Linked DNA regions of Homo sapiens: region 2 is linked to region 1. Evidence: promoter capture Hi-C in 16 types of primary human blood cells and fetal thymus (Javierre and others, 2016). All regions are on one chromosome and are shown on one strand. Each heading gives the region's core, a stretch centred on a gene start or on the middle of the fragment in contact. The rest is flanking DNA. Distances are from core to core; before and after follow the strand shown.

What was found. Contacts are between HindIII fragments. The CHiCAGO score rates a contact against its expected background, and 5 or more counts as called.
Region 2: a fragment that was not itself captured here is called in contact with the fragment with the promoter of RTF2 in region 1 in 1 of 17 cell types (total B cells); the score reaches 7.8 in total B cells.

What each region holds. Positions count from the first base shown.
Region 1 is chr20:56,464,710-56,471,673 of GRCh38, reverse strand. RTF2 (replication termination factor 2) reads right to left here and starts at 3,047. Exons shown (of 9, transcript NM_016407.5): 1 at 2,908-3,047. The coding sequence starts at 2,976. The HindIII fragment of the contact is 9,363 bases long and covers 1-4,036 here.
Region 2 is chr20:58,650,060-58,657,023 of GRCh38, reverse strand. STX16 (syntaxin 16) reads right to left here and starts at 5,741. Exons shown (of 9, transcript NM_001001433.3): 1 at 4,886-5,741. The coding sequence starts at 5,017. STX16-NPEPL1 (STX16-NPEPL1 readthrough (NMD candidate)) reads right to left here and starts at 5,771. Exons shown (of 23, transcript NR_037945.1): 1 at 4,886-5,771. RefSeq lists enhancers at 4,372-4,875, 4,713-4,982 and a silencer at 6,479-6,838. The HindIII fragment of the contact is 616 bases long and covers 2,495-3,110 here.

The DNA of each region.
Region 1 (6,964 bases), core at 1,798-4,297:
TTACCAGGGTCTCTCTTCTTTCCTAGGGTCTTTCTTCTTTTAAGTTTTTACATATCTGTACTGGAAAGACAAGTACAAGTGGTTTTGTTTTGTTTTGTTTTTTTTTGAGACGGAGTCTTGCTCTGTCGCCCAGGCTGGAGTGCAGTGGCGCTATCTTGGCTCACTGCAAGCTCTGCCTCCTGGGTTCACGCCATTCTCCTGCCTCAGCCTCCCGAGTAGCTGGGACTACAGGCACCTGCCACCATGCCCGGCAACTTTTTTGTATTTTTAGTGGAGACAGGGTTTCACTGTGTTAGCCAGGATGGTCTCGATCTCCTGACCTCATGATCCGCCTGCTTCAGCCTCCCAAAGTGCTGGGATTACAGGCGTGAGCCACCGCGCCTGGCCAGACAAGTGTTTTTTCTATACTTTCACTCACAACACTCAATACTTCCAGAACACTTCGGACAAAATGTATGGGATTTTCCCCACACCAACCAATTCTCTGATAGCAGCCAGGTGTCTTACAATTAAACTCAATTCTGATACCACCTATTTGGATATGGCCTCAGATCCCAAAGGTTAAGGGCTCAGTCCCATAATACTGTCCCTACCCCGACTTTAGATGCCAATCACAAGTTCAAGTTGTCACCTGCACTTCTGACTGTCTATAAATCAAAGGCTACCACGATCCCCCCGCCCAGTTTGATGATTTGCTAGTGTCTCACAGATATGGGGAAAGAGTTTAGTTACCATTGCTGATTTATTACAAATACATTTTAAAGGATACAAATAAATAGCCAGATAAAGAAGTAATCTGGAAGGGTCCCAAGTGCAGGGCTGTCCTCATGGAGTTGGGGTAACTCTCCTGGCATGTGGATGTTGTCGGCAACCCAGAAAATCTCCAAACCCTCAACTTCAGGGATCTTTATGGAGACCCCACCACGTAGGCATGATGGATTATTAACTCCATGTCCAATTCCTCTTCTCCTCCCTGAAGGATGGGGGTGAGGTGGGGCTGAAAGTTCCAGGCTTCTAATCTTGGCTTGGTGTTTCTGGTGACCAGGCCCCATCCAGGAGCCCACCAATAATTGCCTTATTAGAACAAAAGATGATCCCGTCACCCAGGAAATTACAAGGAATTTAGGTGCTCTGCGTTAGGAACCAGGGCAGATTTCACAATATTGATCCGAAATGTAAGCTCCACCAGGGCTAGACTCTGCCTTGTTCACTGCTATATCCCTGGGGCCTACAACAATGTATATATGGTAACCACTTATTAAGCATTTGTTGTGTGAATAGTTATAATAAAAATCCATCCTGCCTAGGCATTCTGGCTTTTTTGAATCGCTCTTCCTTCTTTTCTACCCTCTTCCGACACCTGTTTCTTGTCAAGCCTTTCATTAAGCTACTCCTTTTCAGCCCTGGGCACAAGAAAACAAAACTGAGCTAAACACTTTTTTGGTGAAAGCCAAAAAACCACTCATGAATGCTAATTATCCAGCATTCGCCTGTTTACATGTACGTATGATCAGAGGGTACACTTCATCCTCTTGGGTATTCATTCATTCCCATATTCACACATACTTATTAGGTGTCTATTATGTGGCTGACACATGGTAGGGGTTACAGAGGTAAGACACACAAGGTTCCTGTCTACGTGGGAAAGAGACAATAAACAACACAGTGGTAGGCACTGTTAAGAAGAGAAGAGAGAATATTGGAAGTGAGGCACATTTCAGTTACAGTGGACAGATGACATTTGAGTAAAAAACTGAATGAAGTAAAGAAACTCATCATGTGACAATCTCAGTGAAGAGTATTTCAGATTGATGAACTCACACTCCAGGTTGAAGAACAAGAGGCCTGTTTAGCTAGAACAGTATGAAAGAGGTGGAGAGGGGCAGAAGATGAGGTCAGAAACATAGGCAAGGTCTGCTCAAGGGTCTGACGAGATTTTATTCTTAATGTGATGGGAAGCCACTGGAATGCTTCAAATACAATAGTGACTTAAGGGGTTTACCTTTTAAACAAGCTCTCCAGCTCCTGAATCAGAATACATGAAGTCTCCACGTGTGCTTTACAAATATTTTTGTAAAGAAGTCTCTACTAGGTGCTTTACAAATATTTTATCATTAAAAAGTAATTACTTGTGCTAACTTTGAAATCCCAAATAAGTGGATGGGAATCCTGGCTTCACTACCTACCAGCTGTGTGATCTTAGTCACCTTAATATCCCTGGACTCAATGTCCCCGTCAGTAGCAAAGAAATTATTATAATTTCCTCGATTACTTGTGAGATCAGGGATTATTCACTCATTTGTTTATTCGAAATATTTAGTGTGCCAGGAACCATGCTAGTTGCAGAGAAAAAAAGGGTACAGCCTCTGCTATCAGGAACTTACCGTCTAGCGGGGAAGACTTGATACAAATCAACCACGTACAGCCGTGTGCAGGCTAAGACAGTTTATAAAAGGATGTGGTAAGGGAACAGTTTGGGAAGGCTTCTCTGAGCAAATGAAGTTAGTGTATACAAAACTCAGTATACACTAGGTATTTGTATTATTGCTACTAGTCGCAGGTAGGGTTCAAATCCTGGCTCTGCCATTTACTAGCTTTGCAAATTTCTCCTTTTGAGCCTCAACTTCCATGTCTGAAAATGAGGACAACAGTATGTAGCTATAGGGCTATTGTGATAATTACATGAGATACCCCCTGTTAAGATTACTGTCCAGTGAATGGCAATAGTCAGCACCCATTGAATGTCCACTCTTAATACTGTTGTTAATTTTGAGTCCTCTGAATGGAATAAAAGACCGCAGCCAGGTCTGGAACTCCGCTGGCTCCCCCTTCTTACTTCCTCTCGTTTTCTGGGGTCGTCAAATTCCCACCACCCCCGGTCGCCAAGAGCCGGCCCACATCACTGACCTTCTCAACCTTCTTCGGCCCCTTCACCAGTTCATGCCTCTTGGGGATTGTTCCCCCGTCGCAACCCATCGCAGGACGGGAGTCAGAGCCAGCAGCAAACCCCCAAAGCTGTCACTTCCGGGATTTCCGGCGAAATCCGCAGCCACTTCCGGCGCACCGCCGTGACGCAGCACGCTGGTCGTGGCGTAGCGGGGCGGGGCGGGGCGGCACGCTAGGCGCGGCGTAGCGGGGCAGGGCGAGGCCGTTACCAAGTGCCGGTTGTCATGGAGAGCGTCGCTTGGAGGCTGGGCGTGGGCGGGTTTCCTCGTTCCCGTGAGACCCTGGGTTTCTGCTGCACAATCGGAATCACTCGCCCACGCTCCGGGAGGGCAGCGAGGGCGTGGGCGGCCCGTGCGCATCCACCGCTCTTTGACCCTATCCCACGCCAGCTTGTGTGGCTGCGGAGCGGGCACATCCCTGGACTGAGAGCGCCTTGAGGAAAAGGGCCGCCCTCCTGTTTCTGCGATTAAGGATGCCTATGAACGGAATCTGCTGTATCAATGGACATTTTTGTGTTTAAAAGGAGAACGCATCTTTCTTGAGCGCCAACTGTGACTCAAGCACTCACAACAAATCTTGTGAAGTGATGTTACAACAGATTCTAGGAAGTAAGACCCTCCCTTAAGGCCTGGAACTTTCTGGTGTTGCCATGCATATTGTAGATGGCATGTGTGTGAAATTTTGCATACAGTTTGTGCGTGTGTGTATTTCATTCACAGTTTCCTGAAGCCCAGGCTAAAAAAATTTTATTAACAATCAAGTATCATTAATAGACGATATAATAGTTCTTATAAAATATACACTGATGTTGCCATGCCCGTTCCAAGAGTCAGGCTGTATTTTATCTATAAGAACACAAATCCCTTGCTAAAAATTCATGATTGTCTGTCTGCTCTTAGGCGATTGTCTATCTCTCTGTTTGTTCCTTTAATTATTATAAATATTATGGGAAAGTGCCTATAATCCCAGCACTTTGGGAGGCCGAGACGGGAGGAGCACCTGAGCCCAGGAGTTCCAGGTCAGCCTGGACAACATGGTGAGACACCATCTTGAAAGAAAAAGAAAAATTAGCCAGGCGTTGTGGTAAGCTTTTGTAGTCCTAGCGGCTCCGGAGGCTGAGGGGGTAGGAAGGATTGCCTGAGCCCAGGAATTCAAGGTTGCAGTGAGCTTATGATTATGCCACTGCACTCCAGCCTAGGCAACAGAGCAAGACTCTGTCATTAATATGTATGTATGTATGTATGTATGTATTTGTACATATATATGATGGGAAAATTTCTCCATTGCCAAGAAGGCAGATCTTTATGATTGGATATTACCCTATTGACCTACGTGAAACATAAAAACGCTGAAAATATTTTTTACTTGGGAAGAGTTGCCCAGAAAATACGTGGATGTGGAAACTTCAAGGGCTATATGTAAGCTTGGGGTACTTGTTACTGTGATTAATGAGAATTTTAAAAAATAATCCCTTTAATTAGTTGGTCTCTGATTGATTTATGATTTATTTCTATGCTAACCACAATAACTGTAAGCTCTATGAGGGTAGGGACTTCATTTTGTTTTGTTTTGTTTTAGACAGAGTCTCGATCTGTTGCCCAGACTGGAGTGCAGTGATGTGATCTCGGCTCACTGCAACCTCAACCTCCCAGGATCAAAGCGATTCTCCTGCTTCAGCCTCCCCAGTCGCTGAGATTACAGGCGCCCGCCACCATGCTGGGCTAATTTTTGTATTTTTAGTAGAGACGGGGCTTCACCGTGATGGCCAGGCTGGTCTCAAACTCCTGATCTCAGGTGATCCACCTGCCTCGGCCTCCCAAAGTGCTGGGATTACAGCCGTGAGCCACCAAGCCCGGCCAGGACTTTTATTCCACATTGTATCATCAGTGCCTAGAAGAGTCTTTGGCACACTCAATATATGAGTACATTTCCTCAGTAAACCAAAAGAAAGTACAGATTCATTGAGAAAGGGGTGAAAAGCCTAGTTTTGGCAGATACTAAAACTGGTTAGTACTATTAGAATTCCATTTACTGGTGAGGAAACAGAAGCGTGGAAAGATCAAATGACTCCTTCAAGGTCACATAGGCAGTGAGAGACCCGGGAATGAGTGCTAGGATTAGTTCTTTCTCACAGCAAAGGAAAGAAAGTCAAATACAGAAGAGCAGAAACACCAGCATCTTTAGAAAGACTCAAACCAGTGTTCTTTTCTCATTTGGGGAAGAAAAAACAAAAATAGCGGCTCTTTATTAAGCCATGACCATGCGTGCACTGAGAGATTTGTAGGCATTTTTTCACTTTGGGCTCACAATAACCTTAAGAGTTAGAAGGTATAATCCCTCTTGTTTTACAAATGAAAACCCCAAGACTCAGATGTGCAAGTTGTCTTTGTTCAGAGTCTCATAGCTGCTGAGTAAAAGGAGTATAAGATGAGGGGCTGTCTCCGATGAGGCCCGTCTGACTTAACTGCTTCCCCAAATGCTGCTGATAAAACCCAGCAGTACCGGCTGTGCTGGTGTTCTAGCTCAGGCAGCTGGACTTTTTTCTCTTCCTCATTGGTTTCCTCTTTTAGAATATTGGTCTCTAGGCTACTCTGTGCCTCAGACTATACGCAGCTAGAACTTTTGTGAGGTTTATTATCATTGGTAGCAAATATGTGTTGAGAGCTGGCTGCCATGTCAGGTGCTGTGTTCAGCGCTTTATTGGACTTGAGCCGTTTTATTCTCCCGGCTCTACTGGGAAGCAGATGTCATCATTGTCTGCTTCTTCTTCCACTGCCTTGTTGAATGAACTAATAAAGGTTATTCCCTTACAAGCATCTTCGGAGACAACTTTGTCCTAGCCAAGCCATGGATTTTTGGGGAAGCAGAGGAATGAAATGATAAAAAGGAAAATCATTACCCTCTAGTAAAACCAGTATTTCTTAACCTTTTGGGAGTCATTGGACCTGTTTGAGAATTTGATGAAAACTTTGAACTAAATCTCCAGAAAAGTATTGATTAGCACATAACGACATTTCACATAGCGTATACATGTTTGTATTTTACTCACAGCCTTCTGAACCTCAGGCTAAGAACCAGTACTTTAAATGCTGTTATAGTAAGTCCTTACAGTAGGTCTCAAATATTTCAGACTTCTTTTTTTTATATAATTTTTTTATTTTTGAGATGGAGCCTCACCCTGTTGCCCAGGCTAGAGTGCAGTGGTGCAATCTGGGCTCACTGCAACCTCCATCTCCCATGTTCAAGCGATTCTCCTGCCTCAGCCTCCTGAGTAGCTGCAATTACAGGCACATGCCACCATGCCCGGCTAAGTTTTTGTATTTTTAATAGAGATGGGGTTTCACCATGTTGGTCAGGCTGGTCTCGAACTCCTCACCTCATGGTCCGCCCTCCTTGGCCTCCCAAAGTGGTGGGATTACAGGCGCACACCACCACGCCCAGGTAATTTTTTGTATTTTTAGTAGAGACGGCGTTTCACCATGTTGGCCAGGCTGGTCTCGAACTCCTGACCTTGTGATCCACCCGCCTTGGCCTCCCAAAGTGCTGGGATTTCAGGCGTGAGCCACTGCCCCCGGCCCATTTCAGACTTCTGAGCCATGGCAGGTTTGATTTCCTGGTAGCTCTGCTCATATGCTCTTCCGTAGCTGCAGCTTACCATAACTCATTTTAAGAGTTGGCATTAAACATTTTTTAAACTGTCTGCTATGGTTTGAGTGTGTCCCCCAAATTTCATGTGTTGGAAATCTAATCCCAATGCAACAGTGTTGGGAGCTGGGGCCTAATAAGAGGTGATTAGGTCATGAGGGCTCTGCTCTCATGACTGGATTCATGTTGTTATCTTGGGAGTGAGTTAGTGATCGAGACAGTGGACTTGTTATAACATTGAGTTCGGCCCTCTCTTGCTCTCTTGTCCTTCCACCTTCCACCTTGGGATGATGCAGCACAAAAGCCCTTGCCAGATGCAGGCCCCTTGACCTTGGAGTTCCCAGCCTCCAGAACTGCAAGAAATAAATCTGTT
Region 2 (6,964 bases), core at 1,553-4,052, 2.2 Mb before region 1:
CTGAAGCCAGATTTGCCAGAGTTCCAATCACAGCCCCCAGCCATCAGGTGGGTGACACTGGGCCAGTTTCCTACCTCCTCTAAAATCTGTTTCCTTATCTGTATCTGAGAAAAACAATAGTACTTATTTGATAGAGCACTGTGAAGATGAGCTGAGCTTACACACGGAAAGGGCTTAGCCCAGAGCCAGGCACAAAGTAAACTCTCCATAAATCTTAGCTAATATTGTAGTCAAGCCTGAATAAGGACCTCAGGTTTCTTATAACCATAGTTAATCCTTAATTTCCTTTTTCCTAAAGCACACATTTTATTAAAAATAATGTGCTTATGTTTCAAACTAATCTAAGACCAATTAACGCTAGCTTCCAATTATAGATTATGCATTATTTTAAAGCAGAGTATAGATTAGGCAGTAAACACTAACAAAGTAGCTCCAACCCCTATATTAGATCCATTCCCGGAGATCGAAGGAAACCACACAAATCCATACAGAATTTCATCAGATCAGAAGAGCATCTCAATATCTACCTTTCATTCATTTCTTTATGACTTTACAATTTGTTTTGAATAATTGTTTAGCTTCATAAATCCATTTCAGTTTCCTAAAGCCAAGCTGCTTGAATGAGTTGCTACCTTAAAACCTGCACTTGGCTGGCATAATAATGTGAAAGTTACTTTTGCACAGTACTGGGGCTACTTCTAAGGATTTCTGTCAGTAACCTTGGACTGACAGCTACAACACTGTTGACTATGAATTTCTCCTTTTCAAATTAAAGCTAAAGTCAGGAGAAACAATGTATTAAAACAGAACTTGAGAAAATACTGTTGAATCGATAGGGCTGCTGGAAATCACCTAACCCAAACCCCTCAGTTTACAAATGAGGCAAAAAATGTCCGAAAAGATTAAAGGCTTGCCTAAGGACACACTCTGAGCCTGCAGCAGAACAGGACTTAGGCCTCAATTCTCAGATTCAATTCTCAGTGCTCTTTCCTTTATTTCATGCTGCCCTGAGGCATGAACGTGATGGGGCACTCAAAACTGAGGCCAAAGTAAAATGCATGGGAAATACGACTGTATTTTGTTAGGAGTGCATAAAGTCAAACCTGTCTGTTTTTTTACAATTAGTTTTACTAACTTTAATACAACTAAGAACACAAAAAAGTAGAATTTTGCTCAGTTCTGGATGCTGAAATCTAAAAAGGATACAGAAAAACTAAACATCATTTATAGGAAAAAAGCATAACCACTCTGAGCCGGGAATGCTAGGCCTGGAAAGAATTCTGGGTAACAAGGCTGCAGGGTTACCAGACAGAAGGAAGACCCGAAGGAACAGAACTAAAAGCAGGACCCCAGGACACAAATAGTTGGGATTAACAGGCAAAGACTTTTTAGTGGTAAAAATCATGGAGCTGCTGGCATTTTCCATCATTGTCATACACCATGGCCAAATAAGATAGGCATGAGGGGTTATCACAAATGGGGACATTAGGCCAAATGACCTTTAGGTTCCTTCTGGCCCTTGAGGCTTTGTGTTTATCTGGTCACTGCGTATCCTCCTTAAATTCCTGTTTATTTGACATATTTGCCTGAATGCTGCAAAACCCTGTATGCACGCACAGGGACACACAATAACCCCACTACAACAACCAAATTCTAGTTTTTTCCCTCAAACTAGGATGCAAAAAATGCATGTTTAAATTTTTTGAATGGCATGGCTTTAGGTGTGCTTTGCTTTGAGGTGTATGATACACACTACTCTGCAATTAATTTCTGCAGCTTTTTCCTGAAATAAGATGTCAAAATTCAGGATTACAATTTTTTTTTTAAAAAGTCTGTTATTTTAGGTGTATTTTTAGTTGGTATCAAATGCATCAAGATCAAAGTCTACAGCTTTTTCTTCTAATTGGAAACTTAAAATTCCAGGTTATTATTTTTTAAATTAAGTTAAACTTAGGTTTAATTTCTTCCTTTCAAATTGCCTGAGTGTTAGACATGTATTTACAAATTGCCTCTTTTTAACTGTTTTACTTTACTATAACAAATATACTTACTTTAAGTTTCTATTTAAAAATTTTCAAACATGCAGAAAAGCCTACAAAATGGTAAAATGTCGCACACATACTCATCACTAGACTTAACAATGAGTAACAATTTGCCTTATTTGCTTCCTCTATTTTTGGAGGGGTTTAAGGACTTAGGTAAGATGCCTTGACATTTCACCACTAAACATTTCAGTAGGCATCTCTAATAAAATTAGCAAATGTAATGTATTATAATTAATTCCTTAATGTCACCTAATACCTAGTCCATATTCAAAATTTGACAGATACGATTTTGTTTGGTTTGCTACATGGCTTTGAAATTTACAAGTCAGAAACAAGGCTTTAAATTTTTTGTGAGCTAGATATGCAGTGAAAAGCATTGCTAAGAGTTACTCAATAGATTTTACAAATTGTGTTAAACATGGCTTTTGCTTCAAAATGTTTATAAAGCTTTTCCAACTTCCAGAAAAGTTGAAAAAATCATAACCTCTATTTAGTCTTGTTAGCATTTCGCCGTACTGTGTGCAGAATAGATTTTGTTACGAATCACCTGTAAGCAAAGTGAAGATGTAACACTTCAACCCTAAATACTTCAGAAATTTATGACATGCCATTTTTTAACACAATTAAAATATATAAATCTGTGTTTTATTTTTAAATTTGAATTCAGGCAAACTATGTTTGTTAGACTGCAAAACCTATTTTTGAGATAGTATGGATTGACTATAAGGATATTTTAAATGATATGACTGCTTTCAATGATCTGAGAAAGATTTTAAATGGTCAGACTAATATAAATATTAACATTTTCAATGGTATGACATTTAGAAAACATTTTTTAACGTTCTTAGAAATGTATTTTTAGTTGGGTTTAGAAATCTATTTTCAAAAAACTGTGAGTTAGCTAAATGTATCTGTATATACCCTGACATATCTATTTTTCCAAACTGTATACGTTAACTATCCATTTTTAATTATTCTGCTTAGCTTAAATATTTTTTAAAATTGCCTAACTTAGAAAATAATTTTCTAAAGTGGTCTGATTCAGAGATGCACTTTTAAAAAGCTTCCCGTCTCAGATACTAGGTTTTTAAACTGTCTGACTTAATCGGGAAAAAAAAAAAAACCCTCATGTTACCCAAAGGTTCAGGGTATTTTGAACCTTAATGATTAAAAATTGAAAAATAAACAATATGTTTTTCAATTAAAACTGATACCTTAGAAATCTTAATATGAGTTTCAGTAGTTTTTGAGGCAGCACAAAATCAAGTCATTTAAGGAACATGCAGTTCTTATTTAACATTACTGAAGTTCCATTAAGGAATTGAATTCATCCAATTTCTACTCGATTTCTTGGATTATTTCTTCTTCAAAATTAGCGCTAGAATTAGCCTGTTTCTATGCTACCAGACATCTTTACATTTATTTCAATATAATGTAATTCCTTTCCGTTTATAAATGTAAAAAAAACCCTTCAACTTCTTAATTAACTGAAATCTCACACACACTCTGTCCCTAGTTCTAGGCTGTTTGACCTGAGTTTACATGCTTTTATTCCTGAAACCGCTCACACGGCTTAAAATGACTTTTCTATCAGTTATATGGCCAAAGACATTCTCCACCTGTGACTTACAAAAAGGAGAAACTGTCTTTGTAGACATGATAATCATGACATATGGCAAAATTTTCCTGAAGCATTTAGATAAAGCCATAAAGAAAAAAATAAACTGGCAATACAGTCCCTAAGAGGTGAAATGAATGTTCCAAAATTGCCTAATATCAAGTATAACCCCCAAGAATGTGGTCCTGGGATGGCTATTTCCCGCCTGTTCCAACGCTGCTTCTATTCCAACCTAGTCTGCCTACAGCAGGTAGCCTGAACTACAGCCAGTTTCATAACTTCACTTTTCAATTGAAGACATTACAGAGCTAACGATCACTGTCTGGTATAGATCATCCAGACTCGCCCCTTATTTAACAGAGCAGTAAACTGAGGCTCAGAAAGGGAAAAGTAGCCCCCATTAAAAACAAACCCCAAACAGTAATTTTTCCAGGACCACCCTTAAAAAACGCTACTGCTAGGCTAACTAAAGGTTGTGGTTAATTAAAAAAAAAAAGTGCTATTTTACGGGGTTAATTTTCACATATACCTCCTCAGGCTTTTTTTAAAAAGTTCGAATGGAGAGGAAAGCTTAATTTCCTGTCTGGGAAATGGAAAGTGAAGAGGCTAGCACCTTGAGTCTCACAAACGCAAGCCCCCAGGAAGAACAGTGAGGCAATTATTCACAGGGAACAAGGCCACACAGAGGGCTGCGGGGCCGTTAAAAGAAAACGGGCGGAAAAACAAAACAAAACAAAACAACAACACAACTCCCTCCTCTTTGAGGGGAGGGAGTCGTTCATTTTGCAAGGATTTGGGTCTACGATCCGGCGACCCAGCCCTTAGGACCAAACTGAGGCTCATTACTGGGGGGAGGGGAGCTTCAAACAAAACGAAACAAAAAGGCTTCAGAAAGGCCCAATGCTTCCCAATGTTAGCGTTAAAACATATGTAAATTACAGGCGGCCTGTAGCGCAGTGACGCCAAGGCGGGGGGTGCGGGGGGGGGGGTGCTGCGGAAGTGAGGAGAAGACCGGGCAGAGGTGGAGCTGCGGCCTCACAGCACCGCTTCTTCCTCATCCAGGGCTACAGATGCCCCCTGACTCTAGCCAAGAGATCTTATTATTCTTAGTCTTATTATTCTTATCTTCTCTTTTTAAACAGAGAGACAGACAGAGACAGACAAACAGGCAGAGCCGCAGTGCACACGGTCCGTGTGTCGGAGAGGCCGCCAGGAGACTCACCGCAGCAATGCTACGTGAATGCAGAGGGCTGGAGGTGATGTGACTACTCACTTGCTCGGCTAACAGCTGCCGGTTTTGGATGGAATTATTCCGCAACAACAAGAAAGCGTCGGTTAAACGCCTGGTGGCCATGTCTCACCCTTTGCGACCCCCCTCTCAGGGGCCCCCCGCCCACTTATATTCCTGATTTATTCACTTTCTTTCTCGTGGCCCGGCTGGCCCACCCTTTCACGGAAGCTTCTCGACAAGGCCTCAGGCCTCAAGCCAAAAAGATGCAGCTGTGCGCTTCGCCAAGGCGTAGAGACCCCTCCCCAAATAACTACCTAGGCTTTCCAATTGTCTGACTCCCCCTACCCAGGGCAGACTTCGATCTCTAAGCACTTGAATCCCCCCAATCCTTGCGTAGCGATCCAACGTCCCAGAGACCCCACCCCAATCCAACCTTGGATCTACAAGCGTCTAACTCGCCAATCCGGCTCTAGACTGGGAGGCCCTGAAGCCCCCTACTCCCTGAGACCCCCCGGAGGTCTCTGCTCTCTACCCCTAACTTTGGCTCGTAAGCGTCTAGGCCGTGCCCTGAGGTCTGGCTGTGACTCAGTTTCCGCACCAGAGGCCTGGCCTAGGCCCTCTTTGGACAACCGGAGCCAGGCTTGGGGCCTGGACTCGAGGGCGCCTGCAGCTCCCTTCTGGGGACTTGTCTGAACCTGCTGAGGCCCTGCCCGACCTCCTGACCCCTTCCTTTCCTGGACGGCCTGGTCCTCCACTGCCAGCAGGCTGCCGGCCTGCAGGAAGACAGCAGGGCCTGCCTCCCCGGCCTTCTCACTCCTCTTCTCCGGCTCCCTCCATCCCCGGATCTGACTGCAGCTCAGCCCCGGACCGTTTCCGTGCTGTGGTCCCGGGTTCTGGCGTTCCCCCCTGGCCCTCTTCCTGTCCGTCCCTCGCGAGTGCCCCCCTGCGACGCTCGCAAGCCTTGCTCGCAACGTTCCGGGCGCGGGAGCTCCCTGCACTCCTGCCCCGGGGCACGGGAGTGCTCCGCCCTCTCCCGGGGTGCTCCTCGGGCGCCCTGTTTCGCCTCCCCCAACTGGGTCCAGGCACTAGGAGCAGGCCAACGAGCAGGCCTGAGCCTGGGGAGCGTGGCCCCCAGGCTGCAAACCGCTGCCAGGGCCCTTGGTCGCTGAATTAGAGTGGAAGTTGCGCGGCAGGCAAATTTGGGCTCCCCAAGAACTGAAGTTTTGGGCGCGGGGAGTTGGAGCGGGAGAGGAAAAGTTGGAGACGACTGCCTCTGCAGGCCGAGCACGCTCTACTGCAGGCGGCGGCGCTCGCTTTTTTTTTTTTTTTTCCCACTCTGGAAAAAGATGTATCCGACAAACAACCACGAGGAAATAAAAGGAAAAAAAAAAAAAAAAAAGGAACAAGAACTCCAGGCAGCCTGGCCGCGCCGCCGCTGGCAGTCGGGGGTCGTCGGGGGCGCCCGCCCTCCCCAGCTGCCGCTTTCTGTAGGGGGCACTGCAGGGTCGTGGAATCTCAAGTGGAAAAGTTCCCCGAAAACTTTGACACCTCCCACCCCCCTCCCCGCGAAAAAAATCTCTGTTCCCTGCCTGGGCCCTGGCCCTGCGACCCCCGCGCCCCCCCGTGCCCCGGGCCGGGTTTTCCACGGTTGGCCGGGCCCAGGGCGCCCTAAGCACCTCGACTTGCCGCCCCGGGCCAGGTCGGCGGGGTTCGTGCAGGGGCTCCGTGGGGCCGCGTCGGGCAGGGGCCGCCCGGGCCCGAGCACGGCACCCACAAACAGGCTGGCGTCCCGCGACGGAGACCCGGGTCCGGCCCGGAGCCGCCCGGGAGGCTTGAGGCCAAGGGCCTGGCCCAGCGCGCGGCCGGAGCGGGTCGGGGGCGCAGAGCTGTGCGGCGGCGCCTTCCGGGCCCCGGGCCTGTGCAGGGCCGGCTTCCCCTTGCGGGGCGAGGCTGCGGGCCGGGCTGCGGTGCGGGGTTCCAACAAAGGACCGAGGCCCCAGAAGCGGCCCCCACGCGTCCTTTGTTTCTGCGTGGAACAAACTTTACACACGTGTGTGTTTTCCGAGGGTT